2 separate regions of the Homo sapiens genome follow, and region 2 is linked to region 1. Evidence: promoter capture Hi-C in 16 types of primary human blood cells and fetal thymus (Javierre and others, 2016). All regions are on one chromosome and are shown on one strand. The core of a region is centred on a gene start or on the middle of the fragment in contact, and the rest is flanking DNA. Distances in the headings are between cores, read along the strand shown.

Region 1 (5,075 bases), core at 815-3,314:
CCTCTCTGATGTGAAAATGTTGATAACAGCTTTTACCAGGAGAGTCTCTTGCTGGGGAAATTCTGCAGCGGCCTGAGTCTGCCACAAGTTTGATGGCATTGGTTAAGAAATGTGGATGCCATTAATCGCAGGAGCATCTCAGACATGTTGCAAACAGACCTAGTAGTGCCTCCTCATTCTGTGGCACCCATCTGACACCCTAGACACCTCTCAGTCCCTCCAAGGCATTATCCAGTGCTTCTCCTTCCTAAACAGCTGCATGTTTGAGCTTCCTAAACAGCTCAAAGCACCCCTGGGGTGATGGGTTTTTATCTGGGCCGCTTGATTGGGGTTTCAGACAGGCCTGGCATCCTCTTGGGGGCATGGCTCCTCAGGAGTGACGAATTATCCAGGGTGTTAAGTCACTGATCTAGCTGTGTCAAAAACAAGGGCTAACCAGAGAGGTACAAAGCTGCATTTCTTGGAGGTCAGAGAGATGGCACAGGAGATGTGCCAAAATTTCACGTGAAAAGGAGGGCAACAGCTCCCCAAGGGGGCAACATTGGCACCATGGTGATGTCGCTGGAGGGAGAGGGAGCCCTTGGGGGACTATGTGAAGTAGGGGAGAGTGGGTGACAGGCCATTACCATGATATCTCAATCCTTCCCACACTCCTGTAACGAATGTACAACTGTCCTCCCTGCAAAAGAAACACTGAGGCTGCGAGAGGGGCAAGACTTGCCTGAGCTAACTGGAGCAGAAGTAGCAGAGGCAGGGTTTGAACCCAGCTCTCACTACCTGTCCCTTGGGACAGGGCAACAGCTTTCTCTATGTGGACACACTGGTGATGGATCCCCCGTCCTGCCTGCCTGCCTGCCTATGGTGGCCTATGCTGCCTGCCCCTGGTGAGTCCAGGAGGGGCAATCCAGTGACTGGCAGATCCTTTCTGGGGAGTGTTTCTAGAAGGGACCGTGGGTCTGGACAAGCCATAACAGGAAGTAGCCAAGCTGGGCAAGGGCTTCCCCAGCCCAGGCCTAACTACTGCCCATCGATCCAGGCAGAAGGCGGGGTTAGAGACTGCCCTGGGAGATTGGGGGTCTGGGTCCCCTCTGATGAGAGCTCTGGTCTCTCCCTATAAACACACACTCCTATCACAGACACACACATAACACACATGCACATAAATCCACATCAAGCATGCACACACATCCATCATACACACATACGACACACACATGCACCCCTGCACACACACACTACGCTTACATATACCTTTGTGGGATGTAGAGCCATTCCTCCAGAAGCCCATCCATGTACCCCAGATGAAACCACCCAACACCAATTCTTACCTTGTTACATATGGTGAAATCAAGGCATAGACCGAAGTGCTGTGGTTAAGAGCTGTTACTCTCCGAAGTCAGGCGATCTGGGTACAAATCCTGGCTCTGCCAAACCCCTGCCACGGTGCTTTAGGTAAATGACAGCTCCTTTCTGTGGCTTAGTTTCTCCACCTGTAAAATGAGAATAAGAACAGACTCTGCACTTATGGGGTCAGCCCAGATCTCCTCCTAGGGAGACTGCGAGTGCCTGGGCCTCAGTTTTCTCTTCTGTAAAATGGGGATATTGTGCCCAGTTCGAGCAGAGTGGCTTGAAGAGTCACCTGAGATAGGATGTGAAGTGGCCGCGGTGAGGTGCCCAATACACGTGGCGCGCACTGCTCAGGAAGCTTTCCTTGGAGGGCTGGATCCCGCAAAGGTGTCGAAAAAGGATGAGTCCCGGATATCATTCGCTCAGGTGAGGTGGGTTCGGGTCCCGGCTGCGTCTGGGACCGTGGCCCGGGCCTCAGTTTCCCAGTCTACAGCCCGTGGGAGGACACCTCGGAGCTGGCACCCCGCCCCCAAAAGGGCCCCGCGGCGCAGGGCGTGGGGCTCAGGTGGACACCTGGCGGGCCTCCTGGCGGGGGCGCCCTGGCCGCCCGGGCCCCTCCGGGCTCCTTCCGGGTTGGCAGCGGCGGCGCAGGGGGCGGGGGGCAGCGCAGAGGGGCCGGGCGAGGCCGGGAGCGCGCGCCCCCGCCCCCGCCCGCCCGCCTCCTGCCCGCCCTCCGGCCGCGGAGCTGGAAACCGGGCTCCGCGCGTCCGGGGCGGCTGGCGGCGCGGGCAGGCAGGCGGGGAGGACAGGCTGGGGGCGGCGACCGCGAGGGGCCGCGCGCGGAGGGCGCCTGGTGCAGCATGGGCGGCCCGCGGGCTTGGGCGCTGCTCTGCCTCGGGCTCCTGCTCCCGGGAGGCGGCGCTGCGTGGAGCATCGGGGCAGCTCCGTTCTCCGGACGCAGGTAAGAGCTCCCGGCGCCTTTGCACCCCGCTGGCCGAGGGTCCCGGCGCGCACACGCCCCCACCTCCAGGAAGGGCTGGGATTGGAGGGCGATCCAGTCCCCAGCCCGGGTGAGGGCAGGGACACGGCCATCCCGCGGTCCGGCTGAGGCTCCCGCGAGTGCGGGGTCCCCTACTCCATGTGTCGGAGCTGGCTGCCTCCCCTACTCCCTCCCTTTCAACCCAGGAGCTCGAGAGGAGGGGGAAGGGGCGCAACGAGGGCGAAGCCCTGGCCCTTCTGTTCCCCTGTCCCTAGGGCCCCTCCCCCTGCACTTGGGAAAGGCCTATGACACCCCCTAGCCGACTCTTCTCGGACCCTCTCTCCCCTTTTCCCTGTTCCTGTTTTTTTGCTTTGTTTTGTTTTTTGTTTGTTTGTTTTGTACCCAGGCTATTTATCTCCCTCGGAGGAGGGACTGGGGTGGAGTCTCACAGCCCAGTGGGTCAGTGTCGGAGATACCCCAGGGACCTGGCATTTTGGACAGAGAAAAGAGGGAGCACAGTCTTCCTTCTGCTCTCCTAGCGGCGGGGAACCTCCTCCCTGCTGGCCTTTACGGAGGAGCTCCCAGAACCTGACATGGTGGGGCCCATTATTATATATAGTGTCCTCATCAATCCTTGAAGGACCGAATGAGGTAGGGAAAACTGTCCCCATTCAACGGTTAAGCAAACTGAGACCCTAGGGAATTGGCATCATCTTTTAGCCTCATGGGCTATTCACTGAAGAGCTAGGTTGCAAATCTGCCCTTCTATCCTTGATGACAGTGTTTGAACCTGTCCTGGCCTCTGTCCTGGCTGCAGCCCCAGCGAGGGTCCCCTCCTAAAGGCCAGCCGCCGTTGTCCAAGGCAGACAATGTGGAGTAGCCAGGCCTCTCCAGGCCTTTTCATCCCATTCAAAGGCCTGCGCGGCCCCCACCCCCTACGGCCTCAATTCTTTAATTCTTTTCAGAAATTCTCCTTTCCCAGTGGTCAGGGGCCAGCATGCCCCTGCTGGGCTAGCAAGAGCAGTTGACATGGGCAGGGCTGGAGGACGGAGGTGGTTGAAGCATCAGAGGCCAGAAGAGCAGTTGTCTGAGACAGGGGTGGACGTGTGGCAGATGTTACAGCCACCACCTATTGTGTGCAGACAACAGTTAGCCTGAGTCGGCTCCGTTACCTGCATTCATCAGCTCCAGAATCCTCCCAGCTGCTTGGAGGTATGCTCTTTATGATTCTGTTTCATAGAGGAGGAAGATGAGGCTCAGAGAGGGAACATGACCTGCCCAGAGCATGGAAGTGAGCCGCCAGGATCCCAGATGCTAAGAGGACAGAGACTATGAACTCAGAAATCCCACTGTTAGGCTCAGGATGATGGTGGCGACAGCTTAAGGCCCAGACCGCCCTGCAGCCAGTTCAAGGCAGGGCTTCCCAGCCTGGGCTCCTCACCTCCCAGGGTCTCCTGGGTGGGAACAGGATGATGGCTATAACCAGGTATCTGGTGGTCACTGGGGACTGTCACTCCATGTGTTGACAGAAGCCTATCACAGTAGCCTGAGCATCCCAAAAACCCTGTGGGCAACACTATTGCACCCATTGTACAGATACGGAGGCTGAGGCCTACAGAGGACAAGTGGCACCTCAGTCCAGACCAGTCGATTTCCAAATCCAGTGGCTTTTTCTCTCCAGCAGCCTTGCTGGAAGAGGGAAAGAGGTTGTCGGCTTGGGGGCACCAGGAAAGGTTTGCAGTCATGATTAGGAGTTAGGGGCTCCAGCCTTGGACAGAATGGAGACAGAATTCCTTGCTCTTACAGGCTTGATGTGTGACCTCAAGTGGGTCACTTCCTGGCCATGGGTCTCAGTTTTGCTCTCAGTTTCCTTCTTTCCTCGTGGGAAGGACCAGCACCGGGCCTCACCTGCAGTGGTTCCTGCTATCAATCATGTCACATGGGGGTAGGGACCTGGAGCTTGAGGAGTCTGTGGGCTACCAGAACCTCCACTTGTGGCCCCATCCCCACGTTGCTGGAGACAGCATGGGGGTGTCATGCCCTGTCAGCCTTCCTGCCACCCACACCCCAGCACCCCAGGCACCCCTTGGCAGCCAAGGGACCAGACGCAGAAAAGAGGCTTTGTCCTGGGGAGGGGGTGGCCTGGGAAGGCATCCAGGGGGCCGCCCCTTGCCCCAGGAAGGTGGTGACACTTGGAGACCCCCGGAACCAGGGTGCCCAAGGGCTATGCAGAGCTGCCTTGGCTTGCCCCTGCCCCTGGGGCTGCTTCCTGCCCCGCTGAGGTCCTTCTAAGCCTGGAGTCTGCTTCCTTTAACCACTCATCTCAGCGTTTCAGCTGAGGGTTCAAGCCTTCACCAGCCCAGATCTCTCGCCCCTGCAGCACCGGCTTCCTTCCGGCAAATCCTAGGATCAGGGAGAATGGAGGGCTCTAAAATGGAGGGGATCTGCCCCAGCCTCTGTCTAGGGGGCTGCAATCCCAGCTGATGCCCACAGGGGTGACCTGGGTAGGTGCTTTCTCTTGGAGCCTGTTTCCCCCTCTGTAAAATGCAGAACCTGATAATCCCTATTCCAAGGGGAAGACCTTGTGAAGAAGGTACTGTGCTGGTGTCCCCAATCCCCAGGGAAGCCCCTGGACCAAGCTGCTGGGTGTGGGGCCCATGTCTGGGCCTGAGCCCCTCAGTCCCGGAACAGGAATGAACAATAGCTGTTAGCGCTGTGCTAAGGGATTTGAGTGAAGCTTCCCCCGCTG
Region 2 (5,075 bases), core at 633-3,132, 130 kb before region 1:
GCGTGAGTGGCAGGAGCAGCGCGCGGCCGGGGCGGGGCGTGCGTGCGCAGTGGGCTCCGCCCCCCGGGCCTCTCCGCGGATCCGGGCGGGCCCCAGGCTGCAGGGGCGGTGGCGGCGCTGAGCTGGGCGGGCCGGGGCGGGGCGGCCGGGCGGCCGGGGCGGGGCTACACTCGGGCCCCGCGTCCTGCTCCCATGGCCGCCCCCGGCTCCCCGCGCTGCCCCCTTTACCCCGGGCCGCGCCCCGGGGCCCCGCACTGACGGCCCATGGCGCCGCCAGCCGCCCGCCTCGCCCTGCTCTCCGCCGCGGCGCTCACGCTGGCGGCCCGGCCCGCGCCTAGCCCCGGCCTCGGCCCCGGACCCGGTGAGTGTGAGCGACCCCCCGCCGCCCGCCCTGAGCGGAGCCCACTCGAGGGGCGACAAGGGCCGGCCGGCCTGAGAGCCCCCTCCCTCCCGCTTCAGGACCTTCCGGGCCCCTTCCCCTCGCCCCTAGGCGACGCCCCTCAGGCCGGGATGGTCCCTTCCTGGGACCCGGGCTACCCCCAGGCCCGTCATCGACGCCCCCGGGCCCGGTACTGTCCCCCGGCTGCAGGACCCGGTGCTCCTCAGCGACGCCCCTCAGCCCAGGAGGCCCTCTCCGCCTTGAGTCTTCCAAGACCCTCTGCGACGCCCCCCGGGCTGGGACATCTTCTCTGTCTCGGGATCTGGGACCCGCTGCCCGAGTCCCTCAGCGACCCCAACCAGGCCGGGACGCCCCCTCTCCCCGGTACCTCCTGGGATCCCGTCCCAAGTCCCCAGCGACTTCCCCCGGGCCGGGACGTCCTCTGCTCCCCGGTACCTCCTAGGATCCCGTCCCAAAATCCCCAGCGACTCCCCACGGGCCAGGAGGCCCCCTGCTCCCCGGTACCTCCTGGGATCCCGTCCCCAAGTCCCCAGCGACCCCTCCCGGGCCGGGACGACCCCTGCTCCCCAGTACCTCCTGGGATCCCGCCCCAAGTCCTTCATCGACGCACCTTGCACCGGGACGACTCCCCCGCTACAAGAGGCTATACGCCCCTCTCCGAGACCTCCAGCGACATCCCTCCCCTGGGCCAAGGTCCCCTCCCTGAGCCTCACTGCGACGCCCCCGCGTCCCCCAGTCCTCTCCTCCCGCCTACACCGGTGGAACCCGGCGCCTCCCCGCGCAGAGCAGAGCGGAGGCGGGAGGAGCCGGCGCTCAGCCCCTTTTCCCGAGTCCTCGGCTGCACCCGCTTGGCGGACATTATAACTTCTGCCTCGCGAGGAACGGGATGGACTTGTTCGCCCTGCTAGAGGCAGGTTAGGGTCCTGGGACGACCTTGTACCCAGACGGACGGGACGTGCCCTCTCTCTCCGCTGGGCCGCTTTGAACTTCCCTATGACTCAGGTGATGGCGCAGAAGGGGGAGAGAAAAAAGGAAGCAGTGATGGGAAACTTCTCCCCAACTGAGTTTAGGGTGCTCTTCCTGAGGGTGCAACGCCGAGCTCCGTGTTTTGGGTCAGCCCACACCTTAGACAGGTCACTCACTACCCAGGCCAAGGCCAAGGCCAGGTCTTCCCGAGGTGAGGCCCTGGACCAGGATGAAGCTTGGCTTTTGCTTAACTTCCACACGCAACCTTGTAGCCGAATCCTTTCTAAGTGGAAGAGAAGGCAAGAGGGCGTTGCATTTCTCTGCAGGCTGTTTGGGTGTTGAGCATAGGCCATTTGTGAAAGGGATGGGAAGAGTTTATTACCAGTCTGCAGGAGTAGGAAAACCCGCCTCTGGGTTCTCCACCCAAAGTCACAGACTGATGTTGGAAAGGATGGGATTTTGCTGGTGTAAGAAAACTCAGAGTTGCTTTGTTTACTCATTGGCTTGGATTAGCGAAAAAGCTAGGACTTGGTGTTGTCACTTACTGGGTGACTTTGGGCCATGCCTTCAGCTCTCTGAGCCTCAGTTTCCTCATCTGTAAAGACAGGATAACTTCTTTGCAGAGTGTTGTGAAGATTAAATGATATACTGTAGGTAACATACCCGCATATAGGAGGGAGTCAATAAACATATTTTAATAATACTTTTATAGGGCCTCACAGTTCATCGAGTGCTAGACACCTCATTTACCCTGGGAATGCTAAGAGCTTTCGGTCTGATTCATTTCTGTAAAAGGCTAAGCTTGGCTTTAAATTAGTAGAACTGGGGTCTCCAAGTGTTGTAAACCTGAGGCTCAGTAAGTGGTTTCTGAGTGATCACCGTCTTTTATGGGACTTCTACAGTATGATCACTTCTACTGTTGTGAGGAGTGAGGGACATTCCGAGAGCCAGGATATGTCAACATGACTGTAACCTGGTAACCCCTTAGCTCCACTTTGCTATCTGTGTGGTCAGGGTTTAATGTCCCCTACAAAGAGAGAGGTATGGGTGGAAATAGACTGGTTCCCCTTCTGGAAAGGGCAGAGCAGCAGCTCTGATTTGCATCAAGTGAGCCAACTCTCCTTAAGCTCGTTGGAAGCTAGTCTCTTCCCAGATATCTTTGCTTTTTTAAGGTCAAATGCAGCATCTCTTATCAAGTTTGCACCCCAAATTTTGGTGTACTTTTATTTAGGAGTCTGGGGTAGGGGCAAATAATCGTTGTGAAATAATTTGTGATAAGTGGCCCAAGTTCCCAACTCACTGAGCCTTGCCAGCTTGGTGCCTTACCGTCCTGATAACTCAGTGCTTTGCTTTTTTGACTTTTCCTGTCTAGTTGCAGAAGCAATTTTAGGGAGATACCCCATGGTCTTCACCAACACATCCTGTCTAGATCCTACTCACTAGCTTTTAAAATCCTTCCCAATAAAACACACACACATACACACACACACATACACACACACACTTTACTCTGAGGATATGCCAAACTTGCCATTTTATATTTTTTGATACTGTAATTTTCTCTAAAATTTTGTGGATGGAAAAAATTATTTCAATATTTATATTCTGCACAATTTTGTAATATTTAAATTACTGGTGGTTTGCATTTTTGAATGCTGACTTTATAAAAACAGTTAGCTCATTCCCCATCAATCCTACTTCTAATTACAATGTGTAGCCAACCCCAAATGATCTCCCTTCTTTTCATTCTTCCTCTAAGATTCTCTTCCTTCCTTCACAACTCATAAGAAGGAAAGTAGAAGGTAATGGAATCTAGACTTTCCTTCAAGGAGGAGTGCAACCAGGGCCATGTGGTCGAGAGGTTCTCTGTAGTAGGTCCCATCTGGAATTTATGGAATTTATGGTCTACTCACTTGAGTATTTTACTACCTTTAGGGTCTATTAGGTGCACATCAACAGAGCTTCTCCACTCAGGTTATGTTTGCTGTGAATACCTTTTATAAGTTTATAGACTGATGCTCATTCTCCTCTACCTCCTCATCTGGAATTTGCCCCACTAGCCAGTAGTGTGTTTGCCCTAAAACCTATGAGTTCAGTTAACAGCTAGAGCTTCATACTGTCTACCAATTCTTGGTTCTCTTGGGGACTTCATTAATGCTAATAGAATTACCTGTAAGCGACATGGGGGCTGAAGCAGTGAAGGAGTGAAGGGTGCATACCAGTTACTTGCATACTCTGAGTATTTTAAGAAACACCATTTCGACCTGCTATCAAAGACCTCTGATATTTTTGTGAAAATATACTTTAGTCCCTAGACAAACCATTTAAATCTTTGAGGCCGGGCGCGGTGGCTCACACCTGTAATCCCAGCATTTTGGGAGGTCAAGGCAGACGGATCACCTGAGGTCAGGAGTTCAAGGCCAGCCTGGCCAACATGGTGAAACCCCATCTCTACTAAAAATACAAAAAATTAGCCGGGCATGGTGGCACGTGCCTGTAATCCCAGCTACTTGGGAGGCTAAGGCAGGAGAATCGCTGGAACCCAGGAGGCAGAGGTAGCGGTGAGTTGAGATCACACCATTGCACTCCAGCCTGGGCAATAAGAGCAAAACTCTGTTTCAAAATAAACAAATAAATAAAAAGTATTTGAGATAGGCAATGAGTCCCTTTATAAATCTTAAAGCAAGAAAGCATTCCTTTTAGGCTCACTACTCATAAACAGAAAGTTGATGCACTTCTTGTATATCAATACAGATATTATTGATAAACTCATGGTTTAGCATAGTTAGACCAAAAGCAATAAATGAGTAAGATAAAATATATTGCTTTAAATAGCTTCACAATATACAGATTAGGGATTTTTGGTGATGGGGAATATACCATCCTTAGTTTAGAATTTTTGAGTCTGGAAATGTCAACTGATAATCTAGGTCAGGTGTGGGCAAGCATTTTTTGTAGAGGAAGACAGTAAATAATATGAGATTCATGGGCCTTATACTATCTGTGTTGCAATTATTCAACTCTGTAGGGCAAAAGCAGCACAGACAAAAGACAAATGAATGGGTGTGACAGTGTTTCAGTAAGGCTTTATGGACACTGAAATTTGAATTTCCTATTTTTATTTATTTTTTTAAAGAGACGGAGTCTCACTCTGTCACCCAAGCTGAAGTGCAGTGGCGCAATCTCGGCTCACTGCAACCTCCGCTTCCCGGGTTCTAGCAGTTCTCCTGCCTCAGCCTCTCAAGTAGCTGGGATAACAGGCATGCATCACCATGCCTGGCTAGTATTTTATTTTTAGTAGAGACGGGGTTTCACCATGTTGCCCAGGCTGGGAATTTCCTATAATTTTTATGTTAACAAAATATTGTTCATTTGATTTTTCAAAACTAAAATATTTTTAAAATTATAGATTTTTTAAGTCTTAGCTTGTGGGCCATACAGAAACAGGCAGTGAGCCAGATCTGGGCCACAGGCTGTGCTTTGCTGAGTTCTGTTCAAGGTCCATGTCTTCTGATTTTTTTCAGTGTTCACTGGTCTAGAAAAGGTGAGAAGGAGGCTTGATTTTGGTGAATGAATGAAACTTTTACCATTTACTGTTAACTAACTTTAAGATACATATGGGAGAAATGGTTAAAATGGTACATTTTATGTTAATATTTTACTACAATTTTTTTTTAAAAAGATACGTATGGGGAAAAGTTTGTGCACG

The links. The method cuts DNA at HindIII sites, captures the fragments that hold promoters and counts their contacts. A CHiCAGO score of 5 or more calls a contact.
Region 2: a contact is called between a fragment that was not itself captured here and the fragment with the promoter of EMID1 in region 1, in 1 of 17 cell types (erythroblasts). The highest score is 5.3, in erythroblasts.

What each region holds. Positions count from the first base shown.
Region 1 is chr22:29,203,832-29,208,906 of GRCh38, forward strand. EMID1 (EMI domain containing 1) reads left to right here and starts at 2,065. Exons shown (of 15, transcript NM_133455.4): 1 at 2,065-2,308. The coding sequence starts at 2,208. It overlaps LOC101929638 (a long non-coding RNA gene), which reads right to left and starts at 2,001. Exons shown (of 5, transcript XR_938134.3): 1 at 1,640-2,001; 2 at 1,329-1,490. RefSeq lists silencers at 2,160-2,249, 2,260-2,419, 2,440-2,499. The HindIII fragment of the contact is 3,358 bases long and covers 1,704-5,061 here.
Region 2 is chr22:29,072,867-29,077,941 of GRCh38, forward strand. It overlaps KREMEN1 (kringle containing transmembrane protein 1), which reads left to right and starts at 169. Exons shown (of 9, transcript NM_001039570.3): 1 at 169-361. The coding sequence starts at 265. It also overlaps a transcript of C22orf31 not described here. RefSeq lists a silencer at 1-187. The HindIII fragment of the contact is 566 bases long and covers 1,600-2,165 here.